Regions from separate parts of the Homo sapiens genome. Here regions 1 and 2 are each linked to region 3. The links are contacts of gene promoters, found by promoter capture Hi-C in human tissues and cell types (Jung and others, 2019). All regions are on one chromosome and are shown on one strand. Each heading gives the region's core, a stretch centred on a gene start or on the middle of the fragment in contact. The rest is flanking DNA. Distances are from core to core; before and after follow the strand shown. Region 1 holds the start of CCL21 (C-C motif chemokine ligand 21). Region 2 holds the start of CCL19 (C-C motif chemokine ligand 19). Region 3 has its middle 14 kb from the start of DNAJB5.

The links. Contacts are between HindIII fragments. The study calls those that stand out against the background at their distance.
Region 1: a contact is called between the fragment with the promoter of CCL21 here and a fragment that was not itself captured in region 3, in 2 of the 25 tissues and cell types used here (dorsolateral prefrontal cortex and mesenchymal stem cells).
Region 2: the fragment with the promoter of CCL19 here is called in contact with a fragment that was not itself captured in region 3 in 1 of the 25 tissues and cell types used here (dorsolateral prefrontal cortex).

What each region holds. Positions count from the first base shown.
Region 1 is chr9:34,708,584-34,713,046 of GRCh38, reverse strand. CCL21 (C-C motif chemokine ligand 21) reads left to right here and starts at 2,911. Exons shown (of 4, transcript NM_002989.4): 1 at 2,911-3,047; 2 at 3,150-3,270; 3 at 3,365-3,547; 4 at 3,620-4,042. The coding sequence starts at 2,981. The coding sequence ends at 3,653. It also overlaps a transcript of PHF24 not described here. The HindIII fragment of the contact is 9,492 bases long and covers 1-4,463 here.
Region 2 is chr9:34,689,385-34,693,397 of GRCh38, reverse strand. It overlaps CCL19 (C-C motif chemokine ligand 19), which reads left to right and starts at 2,122. Exons shown (of 4, transcript NM_006274.3): 1 at 2,122-2,307; 2 at 3,056-3,188; 3 at 3,375-3,468; 4 at 3,559-3,828. The coding sequence starts at 2,259. The coding sequence ends at 3,579. It also overlaps a transcript of PHF24 not described here. The HindIII fragment of the contact is 19,341 bases long and covers 1-4,013 here.
Region 3 is chr9:35,001,796-35,006,163 of GRCh38, reverse strand. It overlaps the pseudogene LOC100420114. Among named protein-coding and RNA genes, the nearest start is that of DNAJB5, 14 kb to the right of the region's middle. RefSeq lists an enhancer at 2,340-2,840. The HindIII fragment of the contact is 4,415 bases long and covers 1-4,160 here.

The DNA of each region.
Region 1 (4,463 bases), core at 1,662-4,161, 290 kb after region 3:
TAGAGATACCACACTGTAATATTCAGAATGCCCAGTTATCAACAAAAAATTACTAATACAAAGAAATAGGAAAGTATGGCCCATTCACAGGAAGAAAGGAATTTGACAGAGACTATCCCTGAGGAAGCCCAGATATTGGACATAGTAGATGAAGACTTTAACTGTCTTACTGTAAATGCTCAATAAATATTGATGATGGGAGGTTTGATGATAAGGGTGAGAAGCTGAAATCTCAAATACTGCTTTGTTGCTTGTTTTATTATGACCTCAAATTAAATTGGGAAACAATGGCCCTTTTGGAAAAAAAAAATAACTGTCTTAAATATGCTCAAAGAGCTGAAGGAAACCATGGGCAAAGAGTTAAGGGAAATCTGAAAAATGGTGTATGAACAAAATGAAACTATCAATAAAGAGATGGAAATTAGTAAAAAGAAAAAAAGGACTCAAGCAGAAATTCTGGAAGCAAAAATACAATAACTGAAATGTACAATTCACTAGGGGCAATCAACAACTAATTTAAGCAGAAAAAAAAGGATCAGTATTCTTGATGATAAGACAATTAAAATTATCAAGTATGAGAAGAAAAATAAACGAGCCTCAGGGATACCATCAAATGTACCTCATCACAGGAGTCTCAGGAGGAGAAGAGAGGGAACAGGGCATTAAAAAAATTGAAGAAATAATGACAAAACATCTGAAATCTGATGAAAAGCATGAATATACATACCCAAGAAGTTCACAAACTCTAAGAAGGATAAACTCAGAGATCCACACCAAGACAAATTATAGTCAAATTGTTGAAACCCAAAGATTTTAAAAGCAGCAAGAGAGAAGTAACTCATTATGTACAAGAGATTCTCAATAAGATTACCAGCTGATTTCAGAAACCATGGGAGGCCAAAAGACAATGGGGGATATATTTAAAGACTGAAGAAAAAAAAAAGTCAAACAAGAATTCTATATATCCAGCAAAACTATGCTGCAAGAATTAAGGAGAAATAAGACATTTCCAGATAAACAAAACTTAGGAAGTTCATTAATAGTAGACCTGCCCACAAGAAAAGCTAACGGGAGAAAGAAAAAACAAACAAACAAACAAACAAATGCTAAAGGAAGACCTTCAGAATGAAACAAAAGGACAAAAAATAATAACTCACAGCCACACAAAGAAACAAAGATCTCTGATAAACATAACAACATAGCAGGCTGGGCGCAGTGGCTCATGTCTGTAATCCCAGCACTTTGGGAGGCCAAGGTGAGCGGATCATTTGAGGTCAGGAGTTTGAGACCAACCAGGCCAACATGGTGAAACCCCATCTCTACAAAAAATAGAAAAATTAGCTGGATGTGGTGACAGGTGCCCATAATCCCAGTTACTCGGGAGGCTGAGGCAGGAGAATGGCTTGAACCCGGAGGGTGGAGGTTGCAGTGAGCCAAGATCACGCCACTGCACTCCAGCCTGGGCGAAAGAGTGAGACTCTGTCTCAAAAAAAAAAAAAAAAAAGTAACAACATTGCCAGGTATGCTGGTTCACACTTGTAATCCCATTACTTTGGGAGGCCAAGGCGGGTGAATTGCTTGAGGTCAGGCGTTCGAGACTAGCCTGGGCAACATAGTGAGACCTCGTGTCTACAAAAAATACAAAAATTAGCCAGGCATGGTGGCCCCACTACTCAGGAGACTGAGGTGGAAGGATCACTTGAGCCCAGGAGGTCGAGGCTGCTGTGAGCTGAGATTGTGCCACCGCACTCCAGCCTGGGTGACAAAGCGAGACCCTGTGTCAAAAAAAAAAAAAAAGATAAAAGCTAGTATTGTATTTTTAGTTTGTAGCCCCACTTTTTTCTATATAATTTAAAAGGAAAATGCATTAAACAATAATTATAAATCTATGTCAATGGGAACACAATGTATAAAGATGTAATCTGTGACAATAACAATATAAAGAAGGGACTAAAATGTATACGAGCAAAATGTTTATATACCATTGAAACTAAGTTGGTATTATTCAAACTAGGTTGTTATCAGTTTAGAATGTTAATTATAATCACCAAGGTATCCATTAGGAAAATAACTACAAAATATATAGAAAAGGAAAGCAAAGGGGAATCAAAATGGTTATGCTACAGACCAGGTGCAGTCGCTCATACCTATAATTCCAGCACTTTGGGTGGCCAAGGCAGGAGGATCGCTTGAGCCCAGGAGTTCAAGACCAGACTGGGCAACATAGCAAGACCTCATCTCTAGAAAAAATAAAAATGAAAAATGAAAACAGTAGCCGGACGTAGTGGCATGTGCCTGTGGTCCCAGCTCCTCAAGAGGCTGAGGCAGGCAGATCATTTGAGCCCAGGAGCTCAAGACTAGCCTGGGCTAGACATCGTGAAACCTCGTCTCTACAAAAAAAAAATAGAAAAATCAGCCAGGCGCAGTGGTGCTTGCCTGTAGTCCCAGCTCCTGGGGAGGTTGAGGTAGGAGGATCACTCGAGCCCAGGAGGCGGAGATTTCAGTGAGCCAAGATCAACCACTGCACTCCAGCCTGGGTGACAGAGTTAGACCCTGTCTCAAAAAAAAAAAAAAAAAAAAGAACTCTTACAATTTAATAATCAGATTTGCTGGAAGGAGGGGAAGGGTATGGATCCTGGAGCGTAGTGAGGAGACAGTCATGGTGTTCCAGGGGAGAGGCAGTGAGGCCTGCATGAAAGCAGTAGCTGGGAATAGAAGGAAGGCTCAGGCCCAGACATATTCAACTAATGAGGACATAAAATTTGGCAGCTGAGGACTGTCCACTTAGTTTGAGATAAGTGGGGCTGGGTGCCAGCAAATCCAGCTTTCAGGAAGGAAAAGGAGTGGGGATAAGTTAAGGGAAGTGAAAGTGTCTAGCTACATAAATAGCAGGCCAATCCCAGCCCACGCACAGACCCCCAACTTGCAGCTGCCCACCTCACCCTCAGCTCTGGCCTCTTACTCACCCTCTACCACAGACATGGCTCAGTCACTGGCTCTGAGCCTCCTTATCCTGGTTCTGGCCTTTGGCATCCCCAGGACCCAAGGTACCAAGGCAGGGAGGGGCCTTGCATGGGGCTAAGGGGATCAAGAGGCCTGGATAGGAGCTTGCCAGCAGCCCCTGGCTCCCTGTGAATCCCACCCTGCAGGCAGTGATGGAGGGGCTCAGGACTGTTGCCTCAAGTACAGCCAAAGGAAGATTCCCGCCAAGGTTGTCCGCAGCTACCGGAAGCAGGAACCAAGCTTAGGCTGCTCCATCCCAGCTATCCTGTGAGTGGACACAAAGGGGTGGGTACTGGCTGGTGACGGGGTGGGGAGGGCATGGTGGGCAAGACTAAGAAGGCTTACTAGCCCCCACCCGCAGGTTCTTGCCCCGCAAGCGCTCTCAGGCAGAGCTATGTGCAGACCCAAAGGAGCTCTGGGTGCAGCAGCTGATGCAGCATCTGGACAAGACACCATCCCCACAGAAACCAGCCCAGGGCTGCAGGAAGGACAGGGGGGCCTCCAAGACTGGCAAGAAAGGAAAGGGCTCCAAAGGCTGCAAGAGGTGAGGAATCTGAGGGATGTGGGTAAAGGGGAGCCTCAGTCAGCCCCTCACACCCCTCTTCTGCCCTCACAGGACTGAGCGGTCACAGACCCCTAAAGGGCCATAGCCCAGTGAGCAGCCTGGAGCCCTGGAGACCCCACCAGCCTCACCAGCGCTTGAAGCCTGAACCCAAGATGCAAGAAGGAGGCTATGCTCAGGGGCCCTGGAGCAGCCACCCCATGCTGGCCTTGCCACACTCTTTCTCCTGCTTTAACCACCCCATCTGCATTCCCAGCTCTACCCTGCATGGCTGAGCTGCCCACAGCAGGCCAGGTCCAGAGAGACCGAGGAGGGAGAGTCTCCCAGGGAGCATGAGAGGAGGCAGCAGGACTGTCCCCTTGAAGGAGAATCATCAGGACCCTGGACCTGATACGGCTCCCCAGTACACCCCACCTCTTCCTTGTAAATATGATTTATACCTAACTGAATAAAAAGCTGTTCTGTCTTCCCACCCAAGTACCTGTTCCCATGTGTTTATGTCCACCGAGATGCCAAGGTTCCTACAGGGTGGGGTCACACACTCTGAGCCGAAAGCTCAGGCTGAAAAATGCTATGTTCTCATCTACCCCAAGAGTTTCCTTGCCTCTCAGGTGCCTGCACCCCTGAGCAGTTAAAGGGAGGCTGAAGGACAGGGTAGGACCCAGTCTTCTGAGGCATCCTGCCAATGGAGAGGTGGTGGACATGGAGCACACACCCCCAACAGCTCTGCAGACCTCTGAGACCCTGATTCTGTCCTGCACTAACTCCAGGGGTGACCTTCGGATCTTTTCCATGACCTTCAGACCTTTCCCCAGATATCCCAGAGGCTTCCTCTCTTTTCCCTGGGAACTATTCAATGAGACCCTCCAAGTGGTTCTTTGGAAGGGTCCCTAGGAGG
Region 2 (4,013 bases), core at 873-3,372, 310 kb after region 3:
ACTGCAGCAAGATGAAGGATTTGGGGAATTAATACCCCTCTCTCCTTCCACCACTGATCAGTTGCTGCTTCCCATGGGCCAGCCCCAAACAGAAGCCAGAAAGCAGGTGACCCTAAGTAATGCTATCTGCAGAGGTCAGCCTTCCAGGGAGCAGAGCAGGGCCGTGAAGAGTGGAGAATGGATAGGCTGGGGCAAACAGAATAACCAGAACCATCATGGACAGAAGAATGGATAGATCAATGGAAAGAGGGGTGGATGGATGAATTAATGAACAGATACCTGAATAAAAGGATAGAAGGCCAGGCACGGTGGCTCACGCCTGTAATCCCAACACTTTGGGAAGCGGAGGCAAGCAGATCATTTGAAGTCAGGAGTTCGAAACCAGGAGTTCGAAACCAGCCTAGCCAACAAGGTGAAACCTCACCTCTACTAAAAATACCAAATTTAGCCGGGCATGATGGTGGGTGCCTGTAATCCCAGCTACTCAGGAGGCTGAGGCAGGAGAATCCCTTGAGCCCAGGAGGTGGAGGTTGCTCTGAGCCAAGATCGTGCCATTGTACTCCAGCCTGGGTGACAGAGTGAGACTCTGTCTCAAAAAAAAAAAAAAAAAAAGGACAAAAGAAGAACAATGGCTAACAGAGCTTATTGTGCGTCAGCCTCTAAGCTAAGGGCTTTACTCAGGGTTCCTCACTTAATCCTAAGAAGTAGATCTTCTACCATTCCCATTTTACAAATAAGGACACTAAGACACAGAAACTGGAGAATTTTCACCTTGTCGCAGTTAGTAAGTGGTGGAATCTGAATCCCAAGCTAGGCGCTCTGTCTGCAGAGTCTCCCTCCTCTGCACCGTGACTACCCGTGCTGTGCCATGACCAAGTGGCAGACAGGCGGTGTGGAGTGGAGGTAAAGACTGCAAACCCTAGAGCACACCTGGGTCCAAATCATGCTCCAGTACTTACTAGCTGTGTGGCTTTGTGCTCTGAGCCTCATGTTCCTTATGTGTAAAATAAGAATAATAATGTGAAAATAAGAAAAACTACATCAATGGTATTGTTTTGGGAAAGTTAAGCAAGGTAATAGTGGTAAAGTCCTTGACATAGAGCCTAGCACATAGTAAACAATCAAAAATACCATTACTATTATTATGATTAATGAATGGAAAGAAGCTAAGTCAGAAATTTAAGAGGGAAATGTTCCCCCTCCCTCTCTCCATCCAAAAGAGGGTCTAGGGTTTGGGTGACGACGGGTGACTGGGCGTTTCACATTTAGTTTCTCTTTCAAGGCCTTCTCTTCTGACCTTTCTCATAAGGATGGGAAGTCACTTGTCCCCTCCCCCATCGGCCGATTCCTTGAAATTTTAAGATTTGTCTGAATATGAGCTGGCCAGCCCCTCTCCTTAGAAATCCCCTCTTGGTTCCCAGGACTGAGAAAAGGGGGAAAATGAAGGGGGCTATTCCAAGCCAGTCTCCCTCCAGCTGTTCCTTTGACCCAGGTGTTGGACATAGGAAAACAGTAAATAGAGGAAGGGGAGGGTTTGCTGAGCCCCAGAGGCCTGAGATGTGGGATGGGGGTCCTGGGCCTCCTCCCAAGGTACCTGGCCTTTCAGCTCTGCTTGCCCCAAGGGAAGGACTGGTTCCCACATAGTGGGCAGGCACAGTGATGACCTTGGAGGCCACCCCAGGATCTCATGGTTGTCCTGAGGGTGCCAGGGAGCCTTCTTCACCACCAGCCCAAGAAAGAAGCACCAGTGAGGACAAGGGATAAACCTAAGGAAGGGAGCACAGTTCCTCACTGTGGGCCCCACCTTTGACCATCACTTCTGAACCCCAGCTTCATGGTTGATGATGCAAATGCCATCAATGGGATGACAGGGCAATCCCTCTCTCTGGAGAAACAGTGCACAGCCCCCTTTACTGGGCCAGACTGCAGACTTAAGTTCTCAGAGCAGGAGCCAAGGAAAGCAGAAGGAAAGGGCAACCGCAGGGGGAAGAAGGGGGGCAGGGTGCGATTCTGCCAGAAAGAGGGGGGCAACAGGGGAATCACAGAATGGGACATGAAGGGGAATTTCAGGCAGAGAAAGTGAAGCTCTGGCCATAAATAGGAGTCAGCTGCAGGGCTCACATTCCCAGCCTCACATCACTCACACCTTGCATTTCACCCCTGCATCCCAGTCGCCCTGCAGCCTCACACAGATCCTGCACACACCCAGACAGCTGGCGCTCACACATTCACCGTTGGCCTGCCTCTGTTCACCCTCCATGGCCCTGCTACTGGCCCTCAGCCTGCTGGTTCTCTGGACTTCCCCAGGTAAGGCTGAAGGGAGAGTCAGGGTCAGAGGCAGTGGGGGGCTGGCAGTGGGTAATGTCTAGATCTCAGATTGCTTGGCACTGGACGTAAGGGACATGGTGAGTTCAGGCAAATGCTTAGGTCTGTATATTTCGGTGAGCCTGGCAGGTCCCTGCATGTGTGCCTGTAAGTGTGGGTGTCCCTGTGCCCCTGAATCCCAATGCGGGTGTGTCTTTTAGCACATCCTGGGGCCTATGGCTGTGACTGTCTCTGCAAGCTCTATTTCCTGCTGCCTCCGTTTCCCAGGCAGAAGGAGATTTGCTTAAGGTAGGGAGAATGGCAGACACTAAGCCAAGGCTGATATTCAAAAATTTTAGCAATTAATAAGGCTCCTAACACCAGCCTACCCTACCCCACGCCCCTCCCACACTGTGACCTGCATTAACTCTTTACTTGCTGGATTGTCCTGGGAGAGAGGTTGGGGTGATCAGGGCAGCAGGAAGTCATTTGTGGGGCTCAGGGCAGTGGTTATTTACAAAACAGTTTAGAAGTATGACAATATATTTAGCAACCAGTAGAGCCAGAGCCATATTGGTGCATAATGGCTGAATACCAGGTCTAACTCCTCCCCGACCCCACCAGACACACACACACACACACACACACACACACACACACACACACACAGGTGTCCTCAATCCGAGCTAGGGCCATGGCCATGCCACCCTCAAGGGTCCCTGTGTCCTGTCACCTTCTTTCCCCATCCCAGCCCCAACTCTGAGTGGCACCAATGATGCTGAAGACTGCTGCCTGTCTGTGACCCAGAAACCCATCCCTGGGTACATCGTGAGGAACTTCCACTACCTTCTCATCAAGGATGGCTGCAGGGTGCCTGCTGTAGTGTGAGTTGTGGGGAGGGTGTCTAGCCTCATCTCCCGTTTTAGCCCCTGTTGAGACTCCCACCTTCTTATTCCCCTTCTCCATGCCAAGCCCAACCCCTTCAAGGAAATCCCTGAAACAGGTTCCCAGACATGGTCCCCAGGCATGCTGGATTCTGGGGCTCCATTCTCTCCGGCCTCTCACCCCAGGTTCACCACACTGAGGGGCCGCCAGCTCTGTGCACCCCCAGACCAGCCCTGGGTAGAACGCATCATCCAGAGACTGCAGAGGACCTCAGCCAAGGCAAGCCTGGCCCTCCCTGGCCCTGTCTCCTCCCTCTGAGCTCCTGTCTAAGATTCCAGCCCATGATCCTTCCTCTCCTTCCTCCTCTAGATGAAGCGCCGCAGCAGTTAACCTATGACCGTGCAGAGGGAGCCCGGAGTCCGAGTCAAGCATTGTGAATTATTACCTAACCTGGGGAACCGAGGACCAGAAGGAAGGACCAGGCTTCCAGCTCCTCTGCACCAGACCTGACCAGCCAGGACAGGGCCTGGGGTGTGTGTGAGTGTGAGTGTGAGCGAGAGGGTGAGTGTGGTCAGAGTAAAGCTGCTCCACCCCCAGATTGCAATGCTACCAATAAAGCCGCCTGGTGTTTACAACTAATTGATCACAACCTGTTACAGATTTCTTTGTTCTTTCTCCACTCCTACTGCTTAACTAGCCTTAAAAAAAAAAAAAAAGGCACCTGGCACCCATAGATCTGTCTGCTGTCCGTTTGCTGTCTAGCCAGGTGGACAGGAATAGGAAGGGGGAGGTGGAATGGCAGGATCTATTTTCTCTTCTGTGGC
Region 3 (4,368 bases), core at 704-3,203:
GAGTTTTAAGAGGTTTAGAAGCCTGGCCGCCAATACCTACAACAGTTATGGAGGCAAGGGAAACAGGCCCTTGAAAAGAAGGTAATGTGGAGTGGGTAGCCTCCATATTGATTAAGAAGGGGACGGCTTACCTTCCACTGTAAGAGTTACCTAGAGCATCTGTGATGGTCCTGTAAGCTTCTGAGGTAATCGGGCAGTTTCAGTCTTCAGCTGCTAAGCCGAGAAGATCTGGGAAGGAGTCAGTCAGAGAGCCTTGGGCCAGAGTTCTAGGGGCTGTGGGACTGGTTGCCAGGTGAGTTGAACAGTCTGATTTTCAGTGGGGTCCTGCACAGATGGGACGCGGCTTAGGAGGAATCGTGGGCTGCGGGCATTCCTTGGCCTGGTGGCCAGATTTCTGGCACTTGTAGCAAGCTCCTGGGGGAGGCGGGCCTGGGGGAACGCCTGGCCACTGCGACTTAGGCGTTTGGAAGTTCTTTTGTGCTGGAGATGTGGCTGGGGTTTGTCTCACAGTGGAGGCAAGGAATTGCAACTCAGAAATATATTGCTACTTGGCTGCCTCTACTCTATTATTGTACACCTTGAAGGCCAGGTTAATTAGGTCCTGTTGTGGGGTTTGAGGGCTGGAATTTAATTTTTGGAGTTTTATTTAATGTCGGGAGCAGATTGGGTAATAAAATAAAATGCATATTGAGAATAAGATGGCCTTCTGACCTTTCAGGGTCTAGGGCTGTAAAGCGTCTCAGGGTTGCTGCCAAACGAGCCATGAACTGGGCTGGGTTTCTCATATTTGATGAAAAAGAGCCTAAACGCTAACTGATTTTGGGAGAGGTCGGATAAAGAAAAAGGAGCGTTAACCTTGACTATGCCTTTATATCCAGCCATCTTTTTAAGAGGAAATTGCTGGGCAGGTGGGGGAAGGCTGGTTGAGGAATGAAACTGTAAGCCGGACAAGGTGTGAGGAGGGGAGGTGATAAAAGGATTATAGGGTGGGGGAGCAGAGGCTGAGGAAGAATTGGGACCTGGCTCTGCCTGGTGAGGAGGGGAGAGGTCAGATGGGTCTGTAGAAAAGGAAGATTAGAAAGACTCAGTGATGCTTGGGGTTGGGACTGAGGGGACAGGTGGGAGGGAAAGAAGGAAGATTTGGGACTGGTTGCATTGGGAACAGAGACCAGGGAGGAACCGATGTGTAAAAGAATGCCTGGACGTCAGGCACCTCAGACCATTTGCCTAATTTATGACAAGAATTATTTAGATCTTGTAGGATGGAAAAATTAAAAGTGCCATTTTCTGGCTATTTGGAACTACTGTTGAGTTTGTATTGGGGTCAAGCAGCATTGCAGAAGAAAATAAGATGCTTAGATTTTAGGTCAGGTGAGAGTTGAAGAGGTTTTAAGTTCTTAAGAACACAGGCTAAGGGAGAAGGAGGAGGAATGGAGGGTGGAAGGTTGCCCATAGTGAAGGAAGCAAGCCCAGAGAAAAGAGAGTAGAGACACGGAGGGAAGGGGTTCGGGGGTTCTTACCCTCCAGAAAAGCAGGAAAGGGGTCGGGGCACAGAAATAAGGGGTTGGGGTGCAGAGATAAGAGGTCAGGGTGCGGAAATAAGGGATTGCGGTGTGGAAATAAGGGATCGGGGCACAGAGATAAGAGGTTGGGGTGCGGAAATAAGGGATCGGGGCGCAGAGATAAGAGGTCGGGGCATGGAAATAAGGGATCGGGGCTCAGAGATAAGGGGTCAGGGCGTGGAAATAAGGGATGGGGCACAGAGATAAGAGGTTGGGGCACAGAAATAAGGGATCGGGGGTTCTTGCCCCCAGAAAAGCAGAGAAGGGGTAGAGACACGGAGAGAAGGGGTTGGGGGGTTCTTGCCCCCTAGAAAAGTGGTACTTGCAGCTAAGGGTGAAGGAGAAGGGGTTGGGGGGGTTCTTGCCCTCTAGAAAAGCAGAGGAGTAGAGACATGGAGAGAAGGGGTTGGGGGGTTCTTGCCCCCTAGAAAAGCAGTACTTGCTGCTAAGGGTGAAGGACCAAGGCAGGTGTCCCCATGTGGTCAGACACCTCTGAAACATGGGTGAAAAATCAGAGAGGTGTCCCTGCAATGATTAAACACCAAGGGAAGGCTGCCTTCCTTAGTCCGTGACTGGCGCCAGAGTTTTGGGTCCAAGGATAAAATGTGTCTCCTTTGTCTCTACCAGAAAATGAAAGGAATTGAAAGTAAGAGAGGGAGAGATTGAAGGGTGGCGCCAAGATTGAAAGGAGAAAGTGGTTGAGGGATAGTGAGAGAGGTTGGAGAAGAGAGTAAGAAGAGGCCGCTTACCCGATTTAAAATTGGCGAGATGTTCCTTGGGCTGGTGGGTCTGAGGACCCGAGGTCGTAGGTGGATCTTTTTCACAGAGCAAAGAGCAGGAGGACAGGGGATTGATCTCCCAAGGGAGGTCCTCCAATCTGAGTCACAGCACCAAATTTCATGCGCGTCTGTGTGAAGAGACCACCAAACAGGCTTTGTGTGAGCAACAAGGCTGTTTATTTCACCTAGGTGCAGGCGGGCTGAGTCCGAAAAGAGAGTCAGCCAAGGGAGATAGGGGTGGGGCCGTTTTATAAGATTTGGGTAGGTAAAGGAAAATTACAGTCAAAGGGGGGTTGTTCTCTGGCGGGCAGGGGGGGCGGTCACAAGGTGCTCAGTAGGGGAGCTTTTGAGCCAGGATGAGCCAGGAGAAGGAATTTCACAAGATAATGTCATCAGTTAAGGCAGGAACAGGCCACTTTCATTTCTTTTGTGGTGGAATGTCATCAGTTAAGGCAGGAACCGGCCATCTGGATGTGTACATGCAGGTCACAGGGGATATGATGGCTTAGCTTGGGCTCAGAGGCCTGGCAAGTATAATGTGGCATTTCTGGAAATCAGACTCCCCACCCCGACCCCAAGCTTTGTTGTTGCTATTTGTCATTGTTGTTTGCTTGTGTCGTGACTTTACTAATTGTGTAAATTGTGTATTTTTTTTTGTTGTGTGTGGCCACTGAAGTGTCTGCTTGGCTAGCTTAGCCAAAGACTAGACAGAGGTTTCATTAAGTGATTGCACCCAATGAGTCTACCAGTCTTTGCTGGAGGGGTATATACATAAATTTTTCTGGAACTATTTTAGAGTCACTTGCTGGCATACAGGACAACATAGGCTCCCAACCACTGTGGAGCACCAAAGACAAACCAGAGCAGCTGCACATCCTCAGCAGCTCCCAAATTCCAAAATCTTGGGGGATGGAACCATCTCTCCTGGAGTCTCACCTCTGCACAGTGAGGCCCTGGTGGCTACTGTCCTGACTTCTGGTGATTATTTTGCACTGGAGTCTCTCTTTGTTTTAGTCAGTAGAATCTCTAATGCCCACTTTCACTTTCTGGTTTAAATACAGGCTAAAGGTTCCCCACTGCTCCCCCAGCCCCAAACTCTGTTTCATCCCAGCACCTACCTTGGGCCCACCTTCAATCCTCATTCCTGCTCCTATTACTTTCTTTTTCACCCCAGATTAAGGCTTCTGGGGTATCCTTTCCTAGGACGCAGAATGAGGTATAGTCTGTCACCCCAATTGAAGCTCAACATTTGTTGAGAATTTCTAGTTTTTACTCTGTAATTCAGAGATCTTAGGAAGAATTTTGTCTTCCATCTCCCAACCTTGTTCAGTACAGCCTGGCCTCCCAGGACTATGTGCCATTTTCTATTCTTCCTAGAGAATTTCCTATAAGCAATAATATTTGGAACCAACTAGAGCACTGCTTTTGAAAGAGGCTCATGTAGCACTAGTGGGTCCTGGCCTAGAGGATCCAAGAGCTTTTGGTGCCGATGCAGCCTCAGGGCAAATAACAGACACATCTCAGCTAAGGAACAATCATAGATTCTTACAGCCCTCAAGGTACTTATGGGTCAAAGCAGCAAGGGTCTAAGGAAGAATTGATTGGGCACCCAAGAAGCTTCCATATGAGGGGCCCCCCGCCAAGTTTCAGAATGACCTAGGGAAGGGTCTGAGGCATAGCCTGAGAAAGAGTCCCAAAGGTAACCTATCAAGGTGTTCAGAAAGCTACTCAGTAGGGGTTTTGGGGGCTGATTCATCAGAGGAGACCAAAAAAAATGACTTGTTGAGTCACTCAAGGAATGGGTCAGGAAATGACATAAATGCATTCAAGAGAGAACCTAGACTGGAAGCAACTGGAAAACACCCTGAAAGTTCACTTGGGCAGGTGGCCTATATATGTGTGTTGTTCATAGCTTGCTGACAGTGATATATTGCTCCCTTCTGGGAAGTCCTATAGCTACTTGAAAACTGGAAATTTGGCACCCTCAGTGCAGGAACACTGCCTAAATACCTCTTGGAAGCTTTCCT